2 separate regions of the Homo sapiens genome follow, and region 1 is linked to region 2. The links are contacts of gene promoters, found by promoter capture Hi-C in human tissues and cell types (Jung and others, 2019). All regions are on one chromosome and are shown on one strand. The core of a region is centred on a gene start or on the middle of the fragment in contact, and the rest is flanking DNA. Distances in the headings are between cores, read along the strand shown.

What was found. The method cuts DNA at HindIII sites, captures the fragments that hold promoters and counts their contacts. A contact is called where the count stands out against the background at its distance.
Region 1: a fragment that was not itself captured here is called in contact with the fragment with the promoter of RRP9 in region 2 in 1 of the 25 tissues and cell types used here (dorsolateral prefrontal cortex).

Annotation. Positions count from the first base shown.
Region 1 is chr3:51,698,008-51,704,352 of GRCh38, reverse strand. TEX264 (testis expressed 264, ER-phagy receptor) reads right to left here. Exons shown (of 5, transcript NM_015926.6): 4 at 4,779-4,947; 5 at 30-629. The coding sequence ends at 337. Among named protein-coding and RNA genes, the nearest start is that of GRM2, 5.9 kb to the left of the region's middle. RefSeq lists an enhancer at 1-413. The HindIII fragment of the contact is 8,284 bases long and covers 820-6,345 here.
Region 2 is chr3:51,936,488-51,943,431 of GRCh38, reverse strand. RRP9 (ribosomal RNA processing 9, U3 small nucleolar RNA binding protein) reads left to right here and starts at 1,528. Exons shown (of 15, transcript NM_004704.5): 1 at 1,528-1,651; 2 at 1,941-2,023; 3 at 5,228-5,337; 4 at 5,696-5,763; 5 at 5,846-5,887; 6 at 6,114-6,240; 7 at 6,877-6,944. The coding sequence starts at 1,565. It overlaps PARP3 (poly(ADP-ribose) polymerase family member 3), which reads right to left and starts at 1,069. Exons shown (of 11, transcript NM_001003931.4): 1 at 724-1,069; 2 at 1-78. The coding sequence starts at 76. RefSeq lists enhancers at 1,064-1,393, 1,518-2,166. The HindIII fragment of the contact is 37,282 bases long and covers 1-6,944 here.

The DNA.
Region 1 (6,345 bases), core at 3,712-6,211, 240 kb after region 2:
AGGCAGAACAAACAAATACACAACCCAAATCCAGGTGAAACAAGTAAATCATTGGCTTTATTCTGGGTCCTGGAAGCTCCACTGTGAGTCTGAAAAAAAGACACAACAGGGGTGGCAGCCCTGGGGGCTGGTGCAGAAAATAGTCCCTGGCTCCTCTGGCCCTGGGAGCCTAAAGGGCAGTGAGGAGAAGGCTTAGCAAGAGGCCTGGAGCAGGGGAAGTCAGGTCCCTCAGGAACCCCTCCTCCCCCAGAGGAAGGAGGAAGAGGGCTGGAGAGTCTGCTGGAGAGTCTGCTCAGTTCCTCAGCAACTGCACTGCAGGAGGGTGCAGGCCATGGGTTACTCCTTGCCCTTCTCAGGGGCAGTGGGCTCCCAGAGCCACTTGGTAGTCCCCAGGGGCTCAGTCCCAGGGTCCAGCCGTGACTCCCCTAAGGGCCCCTCGCCCTCCAAGTCCAGCTCCTCAAAAGAGGAGCCGCTGGCACCTGACTCGCTGTAGCTGTGCTCGCTGCGGGTGTCACCGTCATCCCAGCCACGGCTGCTCGCCCCAGGTGACAGTGTGGCAGCTGAAGTCTCCCGGCTGCCAGGGCTCACTTCCAAGCTTACAGAACTCGTGTCACTCATTGTGTCAGCTCCTATGACCAGGAAAAGGGAGCACAGGTTAGCTAGGACCACCCCACCCCCTCCTCCAGGGAGAGGCAACTCAGCACGCAGTGCACTCATGAATAATGCAGCCTCCCGGGCTCAGGGGGCTTGCTCCAGCTGCCCTCTGCCCTCTACCCTGACTGGGGCTGCACAGACAGGGCAGAGGGAAAGAGCTGGGAGGAAGGGAGGGAGGGAAGGAGGGAGGGAGGGAGAGAGGGTGGGAGGAGGCAGCTGTGCACTCTTCTCCCCACTCTAAATTAGCCTCAGCTCCCTGCACTTCCACAAAGCCTGCTGCCCTCCCCCCACATTTATTAAGGGCCACTCAGCCCTGAGGTGAGGAGCTGAGGTAGAACAAAGAGACACAAGTAGTGTCCTCTCCACCTTCCCCCACCCCCACTTCAAGCTTGGAAAGAGATGTGTCCAGGGCCAGCTACAGAACATCACCCACAGGGCACGAGGACTGCAGAATGCAGCAGGAGGCCCCTCTGCAGCCCTCCCCCGTGCAGGGCTCCCAGGAGCAGCATCCAGGGAGTCAGCAGGCCCCTGCCTCTGGTACACACCAAGTCCCAGTTGAGGAGGGAGCTGAAGTACGAGGAGGATGGAGAAGGCCTGAGAAATACTCAACCAGCTGCAAGGAGGAGGGTGCTGGGATGAAACATGTTAAGGGTTTTCTCTCCCTATGCCTGGGTCGACCCTGAGAAACCCTTACCCACCCCACCCCCAATGACTGGTGCTTCCTGAGCCACAAGATAGCAAAAGGGGATGATGAGAGCACTCTGCTGGTGGTTGGGGTGCCCCAAACCAGTGCTGAGCCAGGTTGATGGCCCAAACTCCTTCTAACCTGCTCCTTCCACCCCCAATACATCCTCCAAGCAAGCAGCCCCTTCATCTGCCCTGTCCAGGAGCAACCCCTGGGTTCATCTCCCTGGATCAGAGGCACTGAATGCAGGCTGGGGTGGCAAGGAGGAACACATGGCTCAGGCTCGCTGTGTGCAGGAATCCAGACTGGGAGAAAGTGGATCTGCTACCCTTCCTGTATGATGGGGAGAGGGTCAGCTGTCAAACATCACAGAAGGTGAGGGGTTAGCCAGCTTCCCCAGCCACTGTCTCCATGGTGTTGGAGCCAAGCCAGGTGCAGCTGGGGTCTGCTTGGCGCCTGGACTCAGCCTGGGGCTTTCCTTGAGCCTCAAATGGGGCCTAGGTTGGGGGTGGGAGAATTAGGAGAGGGGGGAATTTGGGGTCTCTCCCTACCCCCACCACCCACTCAGCCCCCAGAATATGCCCTCTGGGCGCTACTGGCAGAGGTGAGGTGAGCCCTAGAAGCCCAGGCTGCTGGCCCAGGGCCCTCCTCTTGCTGAGGCCCCAGGTGTGGCTCCCAGGACAGAAGCCTGTGAATGAGGTGGTCAGGGAGCTGGGGGAGCTTTAAGTTTTGGGTAGTTTCTTCTGACCAGGGGACAGGATGCCAGGCCCTCACTGCTCCTTAAATAATGATCAGTGCCCCAGGGACCGCAGGCCTGAAAAGAGCAAAGGAGGGAGACAGTTTCTCCCTGGCCCTATTAAACTGTATGTTCTGTCTGCCCACCCACCCAATGGCTCTCTTGGGACCCCAGGTATAGGAATGTGCCTGCTTCCCAGCATGCTACCTCCTACCACCCAGCTCCTAGGCTAGGAATGTTCAGAGGAAGGAGCCTAGGGGTGCCTCCTTCAGGCCAGGACAGCCTGCTGAAATGAAGACAGCCCCTGGAGACATATATACACTTCAAGCAAAGGAATTCAGCTGGAGGCCAGGCACGGTGGCTCACGCCTGTAATCCCAGCACTTTGGGAAGCTGAGGCAGGTGGATCACATGAGGTCAGGAGTTCCAGACCAGCCTGGCCAACATGGCAAAACCCCATCTCTACTAAAAATACAAAAATTAGCCGGGCATGGTGGCAGGCACCTGTAATCCCAGCTACTCAGGAAGCTGAGGCAGGAGAATCGCTTGAACCCACGAGGTGGAGGTTGCAGTGAGCCAAGATCATGCCATTTCACTCCAGCCTGGGCAAAAAAGGAAAACTGTCTTTAAAAACAAACAAACAAAAAAAAGGAATCCAGCTGGGCATGGTGGCTCATCCCTAGAATCCCAACACTTTGGGAGGCTGAGGCAGGATCACTTGAGCTAACAAGTTCAAGGCCAGCCTGGGCAATATGGCGAAACACCATCTCTATAAAAAATACAAAAACTAGCCAAGCATGGTGGTACACGCCTCTTGTCACAGCTACTCAGGAGGCTGAGGTGGGAGGACAGCTTAAGCCTGGGAGGGAAAGGTTACAGTGAGCCGAGATCTTGCCACTGCACCACTCCAGCCTGGGCGATAGAGCCAGACCTTGCCGCAGAAGAAAAAAAAAAAAGGAATGCAATACGGGGAAGTAGCATCCCTATACCCCCACCAAGATCTACACAGGAGGAGGTCCCAGAGTCCCATGCCTGCATCCCTGGGCAGAAGATACCAGGCAAGGCAGGGCCCTACCTAAATCCCCACGACTACTGGGGCAGGGGACTTGAAGCCCACCCCCTTCACCCAAATCCCTCCCTCTCGCTCTGCCCACAGCCAGTGCAAGACGATCAAATATTCATCGCCTCTCTGAAGCTAAATAATACATCAATGTAATAACAGGCACAAGGCAGCTAATCACCCCCTTTCACCTCCCGGCCTAAGCTAGGGCCACAGCAGGGAGGCGGGCAGGGACAGGCCAAGCCTTGGGCAGTCAGACATCCTGCATGCACCCACCACCAACTGCTGTGTCAGTGGCATGCACCTGGTGGGCAAACACCGAGTCCCGCTGGGGTGTCAGGACAGGCCCTGTGAGAGGTGGGCAGACCCCTTGGCCCCAACACCAGGGAGTGGGTGGGCGGGCTGGAGGGGAGGAAAACAGGCTGAGGAGCTGGGGAATGTGGGAGCTGCCACTACAGCCAGCTGTAGTGGGTGCCAAGCAGTCCTTCAATGACCCTGACAGGCAGTGTTTGGGAGGGAAGGAAGCTGGGTGGGTGGGTCAAGGAGGGGGAGGCAGGCAGCAGAGGGAGGTCACAGTAAAGTGAAGGCACTCTGTCTTCCTGCCCTGGAGGCTGCCTGGGCCTGCTGACCTTGTGCCATGTCCTGTGCCCACAGTAGGGGCACTGAAGAGTGTCTGCCGGGCACTACCAGGCAGAAGGGAGCTGTACCCCATGGAGGTAATTAAGTGGCAGATGAAGTTAACTGTGTTGGACACAGGCCCCTAGGGAGTAGAGACTGCTCCCAATACCCTCCTACCCAGCCCTAGCTGACACGTCTCCCTAGGGTGACCTTGGCTGTTGAAGACTGGATGGGCAGAGCATCTGCTAAAGAAGGAGGAGAGGAGGGACAGTTCCTCTCCCCACAGCCCTGTACCACTCCTAGAAGTCACAAACTCCACCAGGTTGGCCAAGGATAAGGCCCCCTGGGACCATCTGGGATGTAACCCAGCAGACCCCCTTGTGCCTGAGACAGCCCGGGGTCACAGATCATTGCAGAGGGGTGGGCAGGCAAGCAGCCTTCCAGCCTGGACCTGGGGCCTTGAGGCTGCCAGCAGGAGTGTGGGCTGGCCCTGGAGAAAGGCACAGGTGACTGATCTCCTGGCTCCCCTCTGCATGCTCCCTGGTTGTTCCCTGGCAGGGAGAAAGCAGCTGGCTCTGGGTGGGGCCCGTACTGAGGGACAAGAGAACACTTTGCTCCCCTCCTTACCTTCCAGATCTATGCCAATCTTACTTCCTGCTGAGCCCCACCCAAGGGACTCCTTTCCTGAGCAGCCTCAGCCCCCTCCCATGAACATCGAGCTGTCTGTGATCTTTGTTTCCAAGGGTACTCCTGCTGCATCTGGAGGGAATCCAGGCAGGGTCTTTGTATCTGTGTTGCCAGGAGGTAATGTGTGTGAATCCACATCTATGTAGATCCATGTGTCTGGGAACAGGCAACTCCACATGTGGGTCCTCAGGTAGGTGGGTCTCCTTCCTCCCTCTGCCAAGCATAGCCTGACACCCACAGTGCCAACCCAGAGAGGGAGGAGCCTCCTCAACCAAGCCCCTGGAGTCCAGAAGAGAGGAGCTCCAGGAGGGCCCCATCCTCATACCCCACCTTCTGTACCTGTGCCATCCACCTGGGTGTCAATGGCCTCCACAAGCCCCCGCCATTTCCACTCTGTCTCCTTCATCTCAGGCACATAGAAGTCTCCCTGCCGTGCCAGTGGGCACATGAAATGGATCTGGTCTTCCTGGTAGATCTCCAGCCGAGGATAGGCACACAGCTTCCGCTCCTAGTCAGAGAGTGGCAAAAGGTAGAATGAGCCCTACAGGGCCCCTGACTCACTTGTCCCTGGGTGACCCCCAGAACTGTCTATTACCTATTCTGTCCCAGGGGCTGGCTCTGCCTCTCAACCTCTTCCAAGTTCCAAAGCCCTGCTGAGGGAGGCACACATAGATCACCCTAACAGCAGGGCCCCATAGTCCAGAGTGCAATAATAGTCTGAAGACCCAGGACGACACCCTAGGGCAGGTGGTAAAAGAACCCAGGAGCCTGGCACTGCTCTCCTATGTGTACATCTGAGACCAAAAAGCTGTTCCAGAAGGCACTGGTCTCACAGAGCCATGAAGCTTGGCACCCCTGGACCACCCCAGGATAGGGACCCCATGTGCCTAAGCCAAGGTCTCACCTACCAGACTTTCCATCCCAGGACCCCCTGGCCCTGACCTCCTCTCCACCCTGGACAACGCTGACTGACCCACAGATATCAGAAGACCAGCACCCCCAGTCCTTAGGCCTCCAGCCCCTGCTCTTGCAGACATGCTACTATAGACCCTGAACAAGGATCAAGGCCAGCTAAACACCACTTCCACTCCCATTCATTCCCCTGCTAGTTTAGAGCTATGTCAACCTCTGAGACTATCAGGTATGGTTCCCATACCTCCTCACATGTAAACTCAGGTTTTAGCTGATGGGGAAGAGGGAGACCCTGGACTGGAAGGTCAGGTAGGACAAGTAGATCTAGCACAGGACATTACCCAGTGGGCTGATGTACCACCTTTTGGGCCCCAAGTTCCAAAAGGCACTCCACCTCCCTCTGCCTAGACACAGAATCCAGTGCTCCCCATCCCCCAATGAGTATGGAGGGGCACAGACATGCCAGAGCCACCCTGAGGCAGGCAGGGACAGCCAGAACAGGGGTCAAGTTGCCTCTTACTCAGAGCCTGCCCCGCCACCTTTCCTGCGAAGGAGCACAAATACCCACTATGATGACTGCAAGGCCCCTGCCCTGTCACTGCTCACCCGCCAATCTTCACAACACGACTATTTATAGCATTCGCCCCGCTCTCACCATGAGCTCTGAAATGAGCCTTCCACTTAGCAGTAATGAGAGACTTATTGCCTGGCAAGGAGAAGCCACTCCAAGACTCCACTTGTCCACCTGCCTGGCCAACCCTAGGGTTGAGGAACCTCCTTCAACTAAAGCAAGCTAGCAAAGAAGGGTTAAAAGCAAGCCCACGGATGATAAAGGGAAAGAGGAGTGAGCCTGAAAGGTTTACCTAGCTAGGACCCTCAGCAGCCAGCTGAAGGGAGGGTGCATCTAGGAGGCCACGCGGGAGGTGGATGGCCTGTCCCAGGTCTGGCTGTGGCTCAGCCTCTGACTCCATGGGTGATCCAGGCAAAGCCTTCC
Region 2 (6,944 bases), core at 279-2,778:
CCTCCCTTCCTGCCTGCCGGCCCTTCTTCTTCTCAGGGCCCTCAGTCTGTACCCAGGGCTTCGGCTTTGGAGCCATGGCTGTCCTGGGGCACAGAGAGGCCCTTAGGCCTCCATGGTCTCCTCATCCCCAACGACCCACTCTCAGTCCCCACCCCTGCCCTGGGCCAGCACAGCACCAACTTGCCCCACCCCGGGTTGGCCCTTCGGTGGCCTCCCACTGCATCCTGTGTCCACTCTGACGGCATTCCCAGCCCCAGACCACACCCAGCTCTTTGTCACTCAGAAACACCCCTTTCCCCAGTCCCAAGTGCAAGGTTAGGACTCTGTCCAGTCTGCCCACTCTGGTCAACAGGGTCTGCCTGGCTCCCTACCCTCTGCAGCTCACCTGTGTGTCCTGAGGGGTAGGGAAAGTGAAAGGAGGCTCTCTCTCTTCCACTTCGGGGCTCCTCCCCCTGTGTCAGCTAGTTCAGCCCTGGCATGGTTGCCGGGCCGAGTCACCGAGCTATGGGGGAGGGTGGGCAGAGGATCCTGGGGGCAGGATTCTTGGGGCCAGATTATCCTCCCGGAGCTTAGAACCCAGAGCTGTAGAAGCCCTTCCCAATGGACTCAAGAGTTCTGAGGAGCCAGAACTCCGGATCAGTGGCCTTGAACTGATAGAGGGCAAAGGCCAGTCCCACCAGGCCTTGCCCTGCCCTGCCGTGGGCAGGACCATAGGACACTCACCCAAGAAAAGCAGGGACATGGGAGAGGTCCTGGCTGCCACCCGGCCTGGTTGTGTGCGCCTCCCAGGGCAGTCCCAGGTCTAGCAACTCTCCATGAGCCTCAGGCGTGAATTAGGGAGAGAATTCCCAACAATCGCCAGAGGCCGGGGATGAGCTTGTGTGGGGGATTAGACATCGGCTATTTGGCCACCAGTGGGGTGAAGCAGAGGCTGGGGCAGGCCGAGTCAGGCGACCAGTCCCACGGACGGGTGGACACTCGATCTGGCATATCCAAGGCCGGGGCAGTCGCGTCCGTAGCGCTGCTCATGTGGCCGGGGCCTGCAGCACGCATCTGCCGGTCGCGCGGTGACCTTGGGCCCGGATACAGACGCAGCCTCCCTCTCCCCGGGGCTGCTTGGATCCCCGTTGGGTCTAGCGCCGGGCTGCCCATGGAGGGGAGGAGTCACGTTCCAGAACGCGAAAGGGCGCCGCGTCTCTGGCGCCCCCCAGCGGCCAAGGGGCGCAAACACAGAGAAGGCTCTTGCTCCGACTTCGAAGTGGGCCAGCAGCAGAGCGCAAGCGCCACAGCATCAGGCCGGAAGCGCCGTGGAGATGCGGGCTTCCTACTCGAGCCTGGTGCGGGAGCCTAGGAACTTCAGGAGGCGGGGCTACAAGCGTGCATCCTATGGGTGCCTGGGGGCGTGGCAGAGCCTGCAGAAGGACCCAATGGAGCAGTAGGAGGCGGGGCCCGGCGGGCGGTGGAAGCCTATCAATACGCGGGGTCTTGCCAGGCGGCTGGGGAGCTGGGAGGGTTCAGCTGCCACGTGAGTTCTGCGGCCGCTGCTACACGCCTGGTGGGCAGCATGTCGGCAACAGCGGCTGCTCGTAAGCGGGGAAAGCCGGCCTCTGGGGCCGGGGCTGGCGCGGGGGCCGGCAAGCGGCGGCGAAAGGTGAGCATGGCGCTTCTGAGGGCCGCGGTCAGCCCTGCTACTGGGACAACCGTCATCCCATCCAGGGGACCTGGGTCCCGGCCCTTCCCCAGCCCTTCGCCCTGGACCCCTGCTGGAGTCAGCTTCGTCCCTCTCTCCGCGGGCCAAATCCTAGAAAGCCGTTCGCTTAACCCGGGAACCACCGCCTTCCCCATTCCTGGGGTTCTGAGGGAACCGAGGGGGGGGGGCCCTTGGTCAATGCCAGGGTGGTCTGGACCCCTGACCAAAGAAAAGACCGTATAATTCCCAGGCCGACTCTGCGGGGGACAGGGGCAAATCCAAGGGTGGCGGCAAGATGAATGAGGAGATCTCCAGCGACTCTGAGAGCGAGAGGTGAGCTATTCTTTTCCACATAGTGGGAGGGAAAACTGAGTCCCATGGTGCACGGAAGACTGAGTGAGTCCGAACAGAACTGAGCCTAGAATCCAAGACTCTGTCCCTTGGCTCTGAGATCGTGGCTGTTTCCTTTAGTTTCTGGTCCTGCAAAGTCTTGTTTCTGCGAGGTCTCTGGGTGGGAAGGACCCTGGGCCCCAATCCGAGGCCATTGAGACCTCCTTAGGTTTTGGCAGGGACTGGACTGATTGAGAAATTGCAGGAAAACAGAACAAAGCTGTCAAGTATTTCTTGCATCCTTCTTCCCTTGCCAGTTTTCCTGCAATTTCACAATTACTGGGCTCCCCGTCTCTTAACATGCCAGGCACTGCCTTTGCTGTTGGAAGTGCAGAGATAGGCAGGCGGGTGAAGAGAGTGTGTTGTAGTGAGGTGTGTATTTTATAGTTGTGTGTTCTGGGAACAGAGGAGGGACATTTAAATAGGGTCTTGAGAGATGAAGAGGAGTCTCTCACGGAGAGGTAGGGAAGGCATTCAGTGATCAGAGGAAAGTCTGAGGTGTAAGTGTGCCAGAATGGGCAGTAGAAAAGATGAAAGGGGGCTGGGCCTGGTAACTCATGCCTCTAATCCCAGCACTTTGGGAGGCCAAGGCGGGAGGATTGCTTGATGTCAGGAGTTTGAGACCAGCCTGGGCAACATAGCGAGATCTTGTCTGTACAAAAAAAAAAAGTTAGCTGGGTATGGTGGTGTGCACCTGTAGTCCCAACTACTCAGGAGGCTAAGGTTTGGGGATCCCTTCCCAGGGAGTTGAAGCTGCAGTGAACTATGATCATGCACTGCTCTCCAGTCTGGGTGACAGCAAGATCCTGTCTCTAAAAAAAAACCACACACAAAAACAGGAGGACTGGTCATAAGTGCATGTAGATTGTAGAGGGCTTTGGATGCCTCCCTCATTTCTGCAGGTGATGGGTGTGGTTGCTTGCAGGTTTTCAAAGGGTCAGGCATGGTGTCAGGCCTGACCCTGTGGGTTGGAGGCTCTTGGACCAGAGAATCCTAGTGCCTTCCCTATGAGTTGACTTTAGAACTCGCTTCTAAAATTGAGTATGTGTTGCCTTAATTTGCTCATGGAAAGAATGTACTTTTTTTTTTTGTTTTTGAGACAGAGTCTCACTCTGTTGCCCAGGCTGGAGTGCAGTGGTGCGATCTCGGCTCACTGCAACCTCTGCTTCCCAGGTTCAAGTGATTCTCCTGCCTCAGCCACCTGAGTAGCTGGGATTATAGGCCTGCACCACCATGCCTGGCTAATTATGTATGTTTAGTAGAGATGGAGTTTCACCATGTTGGCCAGGCTGGTCTCGAACTCCTGACCTCAAGTGATCCGCCCATCTTAGCCTCCCAGAGTGCTGGGATTATAGGCGTGAGCCACCACACCCAGCCATTAATGTACTTTTCTTAATCCGAAGGTTATTGTGGGTGAGTGTGTGCCAGGCTAGTGTGGGCTAAGTGCTTTTAAATATTTTTAGAATGTTGTGTTGTGAAGTGTGTTAGATACAGAAAAGTGAATGAGATATATTTGCACTACAGAGAGTAATGGTAAAATGGTAAACCTCTGTACACTTACTTACCACTTAGGTTAAGAACTAGAACATTTGCAGAAACTTAGAAGCCGCAACTGTCATTCCTAACTTGAGTTAATCATTTCTTTGGTTTCTTTGTTCTTCTTTTAAAAAATTAACATTTTCCATTTAGGTATAATTTACATATAGTAACATGCCCTTTTTAAAGTTATAGTTCAGTGAGTTTTGACAAACACACACAGTTGTGTGACCACCTCTACCCTGAAGGTAAAGAGTTTCATCACCCTCCAGAACTCCTCCTGCTCCTTCGTAGTCAGCCCCTCTCCTTCCCCCCAAGTCTCTGCTAACCACTGCCCCTAGAGTTGTGCATTTTCTAGCATGCCCTGTAAATGGAATCATAGTGTGTACTTCCCTTGCATTTCTTTAGCGTTCTGTCTCATGCGTATGAATCCTTCAACAATAGATTAATTAGTTTGGCTAAATTGAGTAGAAGTCCGAAGTTAACACAGGTCCCTTGGCTGTGTAAGGGAAGGGCAGCACTAGCCCTGTTGGCTGAAGGCTTGCCAGGCACAGGGCACTAAATTATTTCTGGGGCATGGTCCAGCTTTGGCTTTCCTGAGAGTTTTCAAGGTCCCTTCTGGGGAAGTCAGGGGCAGGTTTACGAGTGAGTCTTGGGAAACACGGTTAGGGGAGTGGACAGAGACTAGATGTCTTCAGGCACATGATCAGAGGGAGTGGGCTGCCTTGGATTCTCTGTGTCTGAGTGCCCATGACCTACCCCCAGCTCCCAGGAGCAGGTCAAAGCAGCACCTGTCTTTGGGTGAAGTGAGTACTCTCAGCTGGTCCGGGGGCTGGGGCATGGAGGGGAAAGCCGTAACTTCACCAGTAAAGGCCAATCCCCAAACAGTGAAGGTTCGCTTGGAACCTTGTTCCCAGGGTAAAGGATGGTGCTGTGGTGATGACAGTCCTGGTGTGTCTGCCTGGTGGGTCCTTGGATCTGATCCAGACTGCCCCCGTCATGTCTGGGGATAGTGTCACCCTTTCTGCTCTCTTGTGTCGCATCTCTGGTTTCCGGTATCCCTTGCCTTTCTCTTTCCCAGTTTACCCTCTTGTTTGGGAGCACAGCTTCTATCCTTCCTAAAGAAAAAGAGGGAGAAAATTCCATGGCACCTTGCACACCTGGCAGTGTCGTCGTTGATTGTTTGACTGGGCATGGCATTTTAGGGGTCAGTGTATTCCTCCAGAGCTTTGTGTGTGAGGCTTCTTTGTCTTCTTGTTCTCAGTATTGCTGTTGAGATGCCTGCACATTTTGATTCCTGACTCTTTGTATGTGACCTGATTTCTTTTGGAAGCCTGGTTTCTCTTGGAAGCCTCCTCTTTCCCCCAGAGTTGAGAGGCTTTAGTGATCTCTTTGGGATTTGGGTCTGTTTCCACCCCTACGTGGGGCACTGAGTGGGGCCTTTTAGTTTGGGGAGTCACATCCTTCAGTTTTCTGCAGTGTAGTCACCGACCATGTGGGCTAGCAGGGAATAGGGGAGGTTGGATGGCAAGGTGAGCATCCAGAAGGCACGATCCTAGCGGTCAGAGGAACAAGGTGAGCCCCTCAGACCCAGCCCCTTCCTGCCCACAGCCTAGCTCCAAGGAAGCCTGAGGAGGAGGAGGAGGAGGAGCTGGAGGAAACTGCACAGGAAAAGAAGCTGCGCTTGGCCAAGCTCTACCTAGAGCAGCTCCGTCAGCAAGGTGAGCCAGTGGGCAGGCCAGCCATGGGCAGGGCTTCTGCCTGTGCTGGTCTGCTGCCCGCCGCTGCAGCCCCAGCCACTTGATGGGTGACTGACATGGATTCCCAGTGGGTGCCCAGGCTGTCAGTGCTGGCTGCCCTGTGGGGGTGGCCAGAAGCTCTCATGGGCCTCCTGGGGAGCCCGCAGGGGGCTGATCTGATAAGTAAAGGCAGGAGGAAACCCTCCAGCTTGCCCTCCCCTCTGCTGAGGCAGCTGGAGCTTCCTGCATTATCCAGCCCTGGGGCAGTGGGATGGGGACAGGATGGAAGGGAAAGAGGGGTCTCAGCCTCAGTTTACTTGGTCTGGTCTGTCCTGCACAGAGGAGGAGAAGGCTGAGGCCCGTGCATTTGAGGAGGACCAGGTGGCGGGGCGCCTGAAGGAGGATGTGGTAAGTGTGGAGGGAGAGTTGGGGGAGGACGGGGGTGGAGCTGATCTGCTCCCAGGGTCTCATCCATCTCTTCTCCATGCAGCTTGAGCAGAGGGGCAGGCTGCAGAAGTTGGTGGCAAAAGAGGTGAGTGGGCATGGTATTTTGGTATAAGGTTGGAGGGAATTGGGGGCCCCACTTGGAACATGGTGGACACTTGGGCCTATCTGGTCAGGTAAGGATCTGGTTGTTGTAGCCTTGGGTCTTGTTTTCCTTCTGGCCTGGGTGGGAAAGGCCAACACTACGCAGTGGGGTTGGTGAAGGTAGTGCCTTTATGCCACTAGCCACAGTGACCTGGCCCCTGTCTGCCCAGATCCAGGCCCCAGCCTCAGCTGACATTCGCGTTTTACGGGGGCACCAGCTCTCTATCACATGTTTGGTCGTCACCCCCGATGACTCAGCCATCTTCTCTGCTGCCAAAGACTGCAGCATCATTAAGTGTGAGTGAGTGCCTGGGTGGGGCTGGAGCCCCCATGGCGGATCCGGGAGGGCTGGTCAGGGGAGTGGGAGTGGTCATGGCAGGCTGAGCCCTGAAGTGGGGAAGTCTCTGGAGGCAGGTTTGCTGCCCTAGGAGTGCTCTCTGGGTGACAGTGAAAGCTGCTGCCCGGCAGTGGGGCTTATGAGCTCCCTGTCCCTAGAGACCTTTGGGCAAAGTCAGGATGATGATTTAATGGGAATTAATGCTGCAGGTAGGTGGTTGGACTAGAAGACATTTGAGGCTGTGCAGTCCTGGGATTGAGTGCCCGGTCCTCCTGGGTTCCCATCCGTTGCTGGCTGACCAGCGGTTCCTTCTACACCCGCTGTAGTAACAGAAGAACTCACACCATCAATCCCAAAGCCCTTTTACATCCCTTCTCTTTTTTGGGCTTTGTGGCTGCTGTTTGGCACTAATGTCCCTCTTCATAGATGAGGAAACTGAGGCAGCTTGTCCGGAGGCTCACGGTGGCTGAGCCAGGTCTTCTGGCCGAGTCCGGGACATTTGCCATGGCTCTTTTTTCCATGCTGCCCCTTGAGGGGGGTTGCCAGCCAGCCCTATCCCCCCATCCCAGTAGCTTCTCCCCCACCCCCAACTGCAGGGAGCGTGGAGAGTGGACGGAAGCTGCATGTGATTCCTCGAGCCAAGAAGGGTGCCGAGGGAAAGCCC